2 separate regions of the Homo sapiens genome follow, and region 1 is linked to region 2. The links are contacts of gene promoters, found by promoter capture Hi-C in human tissues and cell types (Jung and others, 2019). All regions are on one chromosome and are shown on one strand. Each heading gives the region's core, a stretch centred on a gene start or on the middle of the fragment in contact. The rest is flanking DNA. Distances are from core to core; before and after follow the strand shown. Region 1 overlaps ULK2 (unc-51 like autophagy activating kinase 2). Region 2 holds the start of SPECC1 (sperm antigen with calponin homology and coiled-coil domains 1).

Region 1 (4,989 bases), core at 777-3,276, 150 kb before region 2:
AGGTTGCAGTGAGCTGAGAGTGCGCCACTGTACTCCAGACTTGGCAAAAGAACAAGATTCCATCTCAAAAAAAAAAAAAAAAGAGGCTAGGCCAGGCGTGGTGGCTCACGCCTGTAATCCCAGCACTTTGGGAGGCCGAGGCGGGTGGATCACAAGGTCAGGAGATCGAGACCATCCTGGCTAACACTGTGAAACCCCGTCTCTACTAAAAATACAAAAAATTAGCCAGGCATGGTGGCGGGCGCCTGTAGTCCCAGCTACGCGGGAGGCTGAGGCAGGAGAATGGCGTGAACCCGGGAGGCAGAGCTTGCAGTGAGCCGAGATCGCGCCACTGCACTCCAGCCTGGGTGACAGAGCGAAACTCCATCTCAAAAAAAAAAAAGAAAAGAAACCCTATCTCTACTAAAAATACAATAATTAGCCGGGTGTGGTAGCAGGTGCCTGTAATCCCAGCTACTGGGTAAGCTAAGGCAGGAGAATCACTTGAATCCGAGAGGCGGAGGTTGTAGTGAGCCGAGACTGTGCCATTGCACTCCAGCCTGGGCAACAGAGCAAGACTCCATCTCAAAAAAAAAAAAAAAAAAAAAGGAAAAAAAGTCTAAAGTAAGACCCCCCCACAAAAATACCAAACAAAATGGGAAAAATATCTCAAAACATGACAAAGAGCTATCAACTCTGATTCCCTCTTGTTTACCTCCTACAGTCCAAGTGCCCAAGTCCTAACAATTCTATCTCCTAAACATCTCACTAATCTGTCCAGGCCTCTGTCTCCATTGATACCAACATTCTTTCTTACCCAGATATAAATAGCTCTTTCTTTTTAATAACGGTATACACTGAGCATGGTGGCACAGGCCTGTAATCACAGCTACTCAGGAGGCAAAGGCAGGAAGATCGCTTGAGCCCAGGAGTTAGAGGCTGCAGTGAGATATGATGGCACCACAGAAGAAATGCACTCCAGCCTGAGTAACAGAGTAAGACCTCATTTCTAAATAAGTATTTAAAAATAAAAATAAATGTACAGTTCAATGTGTTGTGACAAATGTTTACACCTACGTATCTACCCTGCCAATCAAAATACATAACAATTCCATCACCCCAAGAAGTTCTCTCATGCCCCTTTCCTATCACTCCCTGGGACCAAGAGTCAACCTCTGTTCTGATTTCTATCACCCTAGCTTACTTCTGACTCTTCCCAAAATTCACAAAAACAGAATTATACTGTAGCAGTATATGGCATGCTTATTTTTCTCAAAATAATGTTTGAGGCCGGGCGCGGTGGCTCACGCCTGTAATCCCAGCACTTTGGGAGGCCGAGGCAGGCGGGTCACGAGGTCAGGAGATCAAGACCATCCTGGCTAACACAGTGAAACCCCATCTCTACTAAAAATACAAAAAATTAGCCGGGTATGGTGGCAGGTGCCTGTAGTCCCAGCTACTCAGGAGGCTAAGGCAGGAGAATGAGGGGAACCTGGGAGGCAGAGCTTGCAGTGAGCCGAGATCGCGCCACTGCACTCTAGCCTGGGCGACAGAGCGAGACTCCGTCACACACACAAAAAAAAAAAAGTTTGAAATTCACGTTATGACATGTATCGTTTGTTCCTTTTTATATATGTCAATTTGTTCATTGTATTATTTGCTATAAAACGAGTTTTACGGCCGGGTGCAGTGGCTCACGCCTGGAATCCCAGCACTTTGGGTGGCCGAGGCGGGCAGATCACAAGGTCAGGAGATCGAGACCATCCTGGCTAACACGGTGAAACCCCGTCTCTACTAAAAAATACAAAAACAAAATTAGCCAGGCATGGTGGTAGGCGCCTGTAGTCCCAGCTACTCGGGAGGCTGAGGTGGGAGAATAGTGTCAACCCAGGAGGTGGAGCTTGCAGTGAGCCGAGATCGCACCACGGCACTCCAGCCTTGGTGACAAAGCGAGACTCCATCTCCAAAAAAAAAAAAAAAAAAAAAAAAAAAGAGTTTTAAAATTTTTTATAGCCAGGCACGGTGGCTCACACCTGTAATCCCAACACTTTGGGAGGCCAAGACGGGCAGATCACCTGAGGTCGGGAGTTCGAGACCAGGCTGGCCAATACGGCAAAACCTCGTCTCTACCAAAAATACAGACATTAGCCAGGTGTGGTGGCGGGGCGCCTGTAATCCCAGCTACTCAGGAGGCTGAGGCAGGGAGAATTGCTTGAACCTGGGAGGTGGAGGTTGCAGTGGGCCAAGATCACGGCATTGCACTCCAGCCTGGGTGACAGAGTGAGACTCTGTCTCAAAAAAAAAAAAAAAAAAATGTTTTACATGTCCCTACTAGAGCTTCTGATACTACAGCTTCTGAGTTTCTTATCTTGATTTAAAATGTCTTTCCATCCCTTGGATTGTACAGTCATTTAAATATTATTCTGAGACTGTTATTGTTTACTTTATATATTTAAGCTTTTAATTCATTTGGAAATGATTTTGGAAAATGATGAGAATGGTGTTCCAATTCTATTTTTTGTCAGATGTCTCAGTTTTATGAGCACCACCTATTAAATTAATCATCTTTTTCTTGCGATACTAAAAATTACCAAGAGGTAGATATTTAACCAGGCCACTGACAATCACACAGTTATGTATTCCTAAGTGAAAGTACTTATCTCATGCTCAGAGTGCTCTAGGAGATTTATCTTTTGAAAAACAAAAACGGTATCACTCTCCTGCTTTTAAAACTCTTCAATAGCTTTGTACTGTCCTTAAGATAAAGATCAGATCTGGCTCCTGCTAACCTCTCCAGTATCATCTAACACTATGCTCTCGCTCTCATTACTGTACTCCAGACACACTAGCCTTCTTCCAGTTCCTCAAACTCAGTGATCTCTCCTGTCAGTGGTCTTTACAGAAGCCTTCATCTCCTTGGGAAACTTACTTTATTTTCTCCCATTAACCCCCACCTAGCCTTCTCCCACCCATCCCTCAGTCTCTACAGATATCATTTCCCCAGGAAGCCTTCCCTTGTCCCATTTTCCTAGGCCCCATATTGTTCAAACCTCGCCAAGAGCTCTCCCTTACAGCACTTGGCACACTTGGAAATAGTAACTATTGGCCCGGGTGTGGTGGCTCACGCCTGTAATCCCAGCACTTTGGGAAGCCAAGCTGGGCAGGTCGCTTAAGCTCAGAAGTTTGAGACCAGGCTGAGCAACATGGTGAAACTCCATCTCTACAAAAAATAGAAAAATTAGCCAGGCATGGTGGTGCCTGCCTGTAGTCCCAGATACTTTGAAGGCTGAGGTGGGAGGATGGCTTAAGCCCAAAGGGTGGAGGCTGCAGTGAGGTGTGGTCATGCCACCACACTCCAGCCTGGGCAAGAGAGCCAGACCCTGTCTCAAAAAAGAAAAAAAAAAGAAATAGTAACTATTTGCTTAATGTCATCTTCCCTAATATCCTGTAAGAGTTCCACAATGACAAGGACCATTTCTACTTTGTTCACCACTATACGCCTGTACATCTCATTAACCAGCTCAAGAAATACTAGTCACAAATAAACCAGTAAGAAAAATGAACACAACCTATGCATCATAGGACAGCAATGGGAACGTCACAGAAGAAATGTAAAAAGACAAATACAGCAAAAAGATGACTGATACCCTAATGGTTTAAGAAAAAAAAAATACCAGCTGGGCGCAGTGGCTCACATCTGTAATCCCAGAACTTTGGGAGGCCGAAGCAGGTGGACCACTTGAAGTCAGGAGTTCGAGGCCAGCCTAGCCAACATGGTGAAACCCCATTTCTACTAAAAATACAAAAATTAGCCAGTTGTGGTGGTGGGCGCCTGTAATCCCAGCTACTTGGGAGGCTGAGGCAGGAGAACTGCTTGAGCCCAGAAGGCAGAGGTTGCAGTGAGCCAGGATCGTGCCACTGCACTCCAACCTGGGCAACAGAGTGAAACTCCGTCTCAAAAAAAAAGAAAGAAAGAAAGAAAAGTAATAAAATTAGGCTGGGCATGGTGGCTCACGCCTATAATCCCAGCACTTTAGGAAGCCAAGGCAGGAGGATCACTTTAGTCCAGCAGTTCGAGACCAGCCTGGGCAACATAGTGACCTCATCTCTATTAATTAAGTAAATATAATTTAAAAATGTTTTAAAAGATATTTTCCTAGTGTGAGATTATAAAAATTTTTTTTAAAAAGGTCACTACTGGTTAAAAAGAACTAGTATAGGCTGAGTGCGGTGGCTCAGGCCTGTAATCCCAGCACTTTGGGAGGCTGAGGCAGGCGGGTCACCTGAGGTCAGAAGTTCAAGACCAGCCTGGGCAACAAGGTGAAGCTCCATCTCTACTAAAAATACAAAAACAAAATTATCCAGGCGTGGTGGCAGGCACCTGTAATCCCAGCTACTTGGGAGGCTGAGGCAAGAGAATCACTTGAACTCAGGAGGCAGAGGTTGCAGTGAGCTGAGACTGTCGCTGCACTCCCGCCTGGGTAACAGAAAGAATTGGTATAATCTTTTAAAAGATAGCTAATATCTTTGACCAAGCAATTCCACTTCAAGGAATTTATTCTACAGGAACACTATAAAAACACACAAAGATATATGCACACATCTTTCTCTGCAATACTGTTTCCAATAGGGAAAAAATAGGAAACACTCCAAATAGCCATAATTCGGTGGTTTCTTAAGCTACAGGACTCACTCTGTCACCCAAGCTGGAGTACAGTGGCCAGTGGTGCAATCACAGCTCACTGTAACTTCAAGTTCCTGGGCTCAAGCCTTCCTTCCATTTTAGCCTCCCAAGTAGCTGGGATCACAGGTATGCGCCACCACATCTGGCTAACTTTATTTTTTGTAGAAACAGGGTCTCACTATGTTGCACAGGCTGGTCTTGAACTTCTGGCCTCAAGCAATCCTCCAGCTTCAGCTTCCCAAAGCACTGAGTTTATGGTGTGAGCCACCATGCCTGGCTCATAATTGGGTTTTAAGTAAATTATCATTTAGCCCTACAATACTATA
Region 2 (4,946 bases), core at 1,663-4,162:
AAAACAAACGTGGGATTATGGTTACACAGCAGAATGTATGATTTTATAAACCTACTAACGTGGAAATGGTATAATTAACATCTTTTATATCTAGGAATCCAAATATCTCATTCAAAGCTGATTTAAAAATCAAGTGATAAAGATATTTATAAATGTAGTTAATTAAAAAAGCAAATACTAAAGAAGGATAAAATCATTTACATTAGGTGAGGAGAAGAAAAGGGGTAAAGAAAAAAGAGGGAAATTACAATGTCATTTTTATTCAGAATAGGGAGTTAACAGACAGTCTGAAGAAACTGAGGACGATGTGTATTGCGGAGTATGATTATAAGGCAACTCCCTGAATAAAAATACAAACCTTCCAAATTATCAGAAGAAACACAAAACACAATAAACACAAAATATGCAATGCAAGAGTGAAAAAAGGACCAAAAGGGCTATGAAACAGCATAATATAGCTGTCACATGAATAGGGCTCAACTCATCTATGGCAAGATAAAGATTTTCAGATTTAATCACAAAGCAAAACTTAGTGCTCTAATTCAAGGGATTACCTAAAATAAAGGGTTCAGAAAAGACGAAAACAGCAAAGGTTGTTTGGGGTAACAAACAAAATTCAGCAGGATGGTAAAATATCAGACAAAGTTAAATTCAGGGCAAAGTTTGAACACATTAAATGAGACAAGGAAGGTCATTTTATGATGAAGTGGGAAAATTCCCAAGAATATAAGACAAATGAATATTTATGCACAAATAACATGGTACTATTTATAAAGCAGGACTTCAGAGAAATAAGGAGAAATAAAAACACAATAGTAACAAAAGATTCTAATTTACCTTCTTCCGATTACGTTAGATCAAAATACGTCTAAAAAATAAAGGAGAAAAAATATTTTAAAAAGAAGAAGAAAAAAGCTCCAGTATAACCAAAAACATAAACCTAAGAGCTGATTCTTTGAAAAAAAAATACACTTTTAAAAGTTAACAAAATAAAGAAGCAAAAATACACAAAATAAGATATTTGGGAGAAGTTAAAAGATTCACAAAAGACTACTTTCCTCAACTTTATGCAAATACACTTGAACATCTGGAAAAAAAGGATAATTTGTTTTAAGAAATACATGCTTTATCAAAATTAACTCTAGAATAATTTTTAAAATGTAAATAATAAAATTGCCACAGAAGAAACTTTTCTAGCCTTAAAAGATTTACCCTCCCCAAAGAAAGCATCAGGCTGGGAGGAACATTTTTAACTGGGAAATGATCAAACCTCAAAGAATAGATAATTTTAATGCTCCTTAAATTGTTCAGAGTAAAAGGAAAAAGCAAACATGCCCATTTTTTTTTCTTTTTTTTTTTTTGTAGAGATGGGGGGGTCTCACTGTGTTTCCTAGACTGGTCTCGAACTTCTGGCCTCAAGCACTCCTCCTGCCTCGGTTCCAAATTTTTTATGATGTGAGCATAACATTGATTCTGAAACCAAACAACATTAGACATTCAAAAAGAAAATTATTGCCCATCTCATTTTTGCATATCAATGCAAAGCCTGTAAATAAAATATTAGCAAACAGAATCAAGCAGTATATTTAAAAAAAAAAGACAAGTTTATTGCAGGGATAAACTGGGTTTTTATTAGGAATTTATTATAACTAGGACTCATTACTTCAATATGAGGAAATCAGCTGTCACCCGGTTTGCTCGTCCTTACAGACATCTCCCTCCTCTTCCTCTCTTCCTTTCCAGTGAAAATGTCTTCAAGTTTCCTCTACCAAACCAAAACTTCACCCCACTTCTTTTATTCTTTCCTCCTCTCTTCTCAGAACAAAGGGGTTGTTGCTGACCAGCCCAGGGTTTCTTATTTGGGGCCGGATCATTCTTCCTTGTGGGGCAGTCCTGTCCTTCAGGTAGGATGTTGAGGAGCACCCTCGTGTCTACCCACTTAGGCAACAGTAGCAACTCCCGCATCATGACAACCAAAAATGTCTCCAGACCTCCCCAAATGTACGCGGGGCGGCGAGGAGGGGCAACACCGGCCCTGGTCGAGAACCGCTAGCCTAGGCTCGCCCCTCTACCTGGGCGCCACAACTTGCCAGGGTTGGTTATTCTCCCTGGATCCTTTCCTTCCTCCTCATTTGAGCTTCACGCCCTCAAGTATGACCAAAGGTTCTGTCATTCCACTCCTGCAGTTTTCATTAAGGTCTTAGGCCACTTCCATGTCAAGAAACACAGTGGCTCTTTCTAACCCCTGGCCATGAGGCACCCCTGGAGGAGGAGCCGTGAGGGTAGGGAAGATGCTGAGGGGGATGTTGACCTTGCCGACTTCCAGGCGCCTCCGCTGCATCCCGGAGGAGGCGTTGGGCGGTGAGGGTGCAGCGGGGGGGCGGGCCCCGCAGGATGAGGTGTCCGTGTGCGGCTAGCGCCACAGGCAAGACCGGGCTCCTTGCGGGGCGGAGGTGAGGCCGTGAGCATAGCTCTCAAACTGGAGGGCGCCTCAGAATCACTTGACGGGCTTGCGAGAATGTGGACTGCTGGGCCCCACCTTCATGGTTTTAGTGCAGGAAAAACCGAATAGGCTGGGTGGGACGGAGAATCTGCATTTTCTCAAGTTCCCAGATGAGGCTGAAGCTGCTGGTCCGGGCACCACCCTTAGAAAACCTCCAGTGTAGAGTGCGGAAATGGGGTCCACATCTGGCTTGGGACGCCCAAACATCGATTATGTGCGACCAGAGGATGAGCAGATAGGGAGATGAGACACTGAGAGCTGGGAGAGAGGGGGCCCCCGGCCGCCGGCTGAAGGAGGACGGCGCAGGCGGCGGTCCGGGTACTACATCTCCCAGCGAGCCCCGCGCGGCTCGCGCTCGCCCCCTGGCGGCGATGGCTGGAGGCGCCGGCGGAGCGCGGGTCCCTCTCCTGAGCATCAGTGAGCGCCCGGAGCCGTGGCCGCTGGGGGTTGCGGCGGCGCTGAGCCAGCGGGGCCGGTGAGTACTAGCCGCGCCGCCAGCCCGCCCGCCGGCCGGCTCTTTGCGCCTCAGCCGCGTGGTCTGAAGGGATGGGCGGGCGAGCGCGGGGGTCCGGCAGTCCGTCGTGGGGGCACGGGACTGCCTTTCTGGGAAGGCGTGCTGCGTCTTCGCCGCGGGGGCCCCGGTCCCCTCGTCGCGTGTCCTGTCCCCAGCCCAGGAGGGACGTCCTGGCCTGTCCTGCCCGGCCCGGAGCGGTGGGACCGGTGCCGCAGGTGGCAGCGGCAGGTGGCCGCCTCCTCCCCTCCGGGCCCGAGGGTTGTCGCAGGGACCCGGGACTGAGAGCCAGGTGGCTCCCGACAGCTGCGGCCCTGGAGGCGACCCCAGCCCTCGCCGCAGTGGGACAGGTGCGCGGGCACGCCCGGCCCCGGCTCCTGGGTCTCGGGAGCCTCCCGCACCCTCCCTGTTGTGCCTTGGGGGTGCTGCGTGGTGCAGAGGACCGAGAAGCCCTTCGCCCTCGGCGTCCGCCGCGCTCCCGCCCCTTCCTGGCCGGGGTGACAGGGGAAGGGCTAGGGCTGCGCATCCCGGGTCAGCTGGGGCGCCGCGGCGCAGTGCACCTGGAAGGCCCGGGGGCAGCGCGCGGTGCCCGTGGGTTTCCCGGTGGTGCGGACCTGCGGGCGTGCGGAAGTAACGACCTCCTTCCCCAGTGCCCATGCAAGGAAATTAGTGTTATGTGCTTGCTTTTTTTTTTTTTTTTTCCTAAGGAAGTTTGACTCTGAATATCTTATTTTGCTGGAGCTCCATTTGCCAGCACGTAAGTTTATGTAATAAGCGGCATACAGTTCGGAAAAAAATTTTCCTGTGAAAGTGCTCTTCCTTGCCCTCTGCAGGAAGAATTACGCCGAGCTGGTTGGCAGGCTTATCCACCAGCAACTGTAGGAGCTGCAGGCAGCAGATAAAGTGTTTTTTGAGTAAGGGCACAAGTCAGCCCTTCAGGACAATTTTTGTTTTTGGAAGATTCTGTTATCCAGTTCCAAACACCGTGTTATTTCAGTGTTGAAGATGGGGGAGGAGGGAGGAGCACAGGCTTGTCAATCCTAATACCTCAACAGAAATTAGCTTTGCAGGATTAACTCTCCAAGCAAGCGAGTTGAATTTGGTAGCCCAAACTACAGCTGAAGCTGAGCCTCCATACTAAAGCCTGTCTCAGTTTTAATAGTTTTTCGCTTGATTCGTTTGCCTCTTCCAAGTAGGTGATCTTATTGTCTGTTAAACAACAGATGTCTCTCATGTTTTTACTTTTTTCCTTGTCTTCCATAGATTACTCTCGCTGCAGTGTTGACTATTGAGGTTAAATAGGAATCTTTGTCTTGGGCTTGGTTTTAGGGAGCATTCCCTCTGTATCTTCACCGAGTGTATTCTATCACATTAAGTACATTTCTGTTTATGCCTAATTACTAAGAGTTTAAAAAGTCAAGGGTGGGTGTTGGGTTTTTTGCCCAAATGCTTTTGTGTAGCATGCATTGATATGATCATGTAGATTTTCGTCTTAAAATTGTTAACATAAGTGGTGGTCACATTGCTAGATTTTCTTTCTCTAAAACCCTGGGCTAATTTAAAATGCACTTTTGGATTGTTCACATCAATAAGCTAGCATCTTATTTAGGGTTTTGGTATCTGAGTTTGGCATATAGTTTACCCCATTTTTATCTGTGTTCATAACAAGGATCAGGCTGTCCTCTCTGATTAAATTGGGAAACTTTCCATCATTTTCTATGCTCTGGAATAGAAGAATTATCTGTTCCCTCAAGTTTGGCAGAACTTGACTGCAGACTGCCTGGGCTGCTGCTGGTGTTGTTTAGGCAGTTAATATCAGTATTTAATTACCTTTTCATTTTTTTCATGATCATTTATTTTTCTCAGTTTTTCTGTTTCTTCAAAGTAAATTTAATATTTTCTGTTTTCCTAGAAAATCATTAACATTATTGA

What was found. The method cuts DNA at HindIII sites, captures the fragments that hold promoters and counts their contacts. A contact is called where the count stands out against the background at its distance.
Region 1: a fragment that was not itself captured here is called in contact with the fragment with the promoter of SPECC1 in region 2 in 2 of the 25 tissues and cell types used here (mesendoderm cells and pancreas).

What each region holds. Positions count from the first base shown.
Region 1 is chr17:19,855,034-19,860,022 of GRCh38, forward strand. The region is part of intron 3 of ULK2 (unc-51 like autophagy activating kinase 2); the gene reads right to left. Among named protein-coding and RNA genes, the nearest start is that of TRG-CCC3-1, 3.3 kb to the right of the region's middle. The HindIII fragment of the contact is 7,474 bases long and covers 1-4,989 here.
Region 2 is chr17:20,006,447-20,011,392 of GRCh38, forward strand. It overlaps SPECC1 (sperm antigen with calponin homology and coiled-coil domains 1), which reads left to right and starts at 2,913. Exons shown (of 15, transcript NM_001243439.2): 1 at 2,913-2,978. SPECC1-DT (SPECC1 divergent transcript) reads right to left here and starts at 2,814. Exons shown (of 1, transcript NR_186461.1): 1 at 1,609-2,814. RefSeq lists an enhancer at 1,715-2,282 and silencers at 2,715-3,384, 3,405-3,584. The HindIII fragment of the contact is 29,689 bases long and covers 1-4,946 here.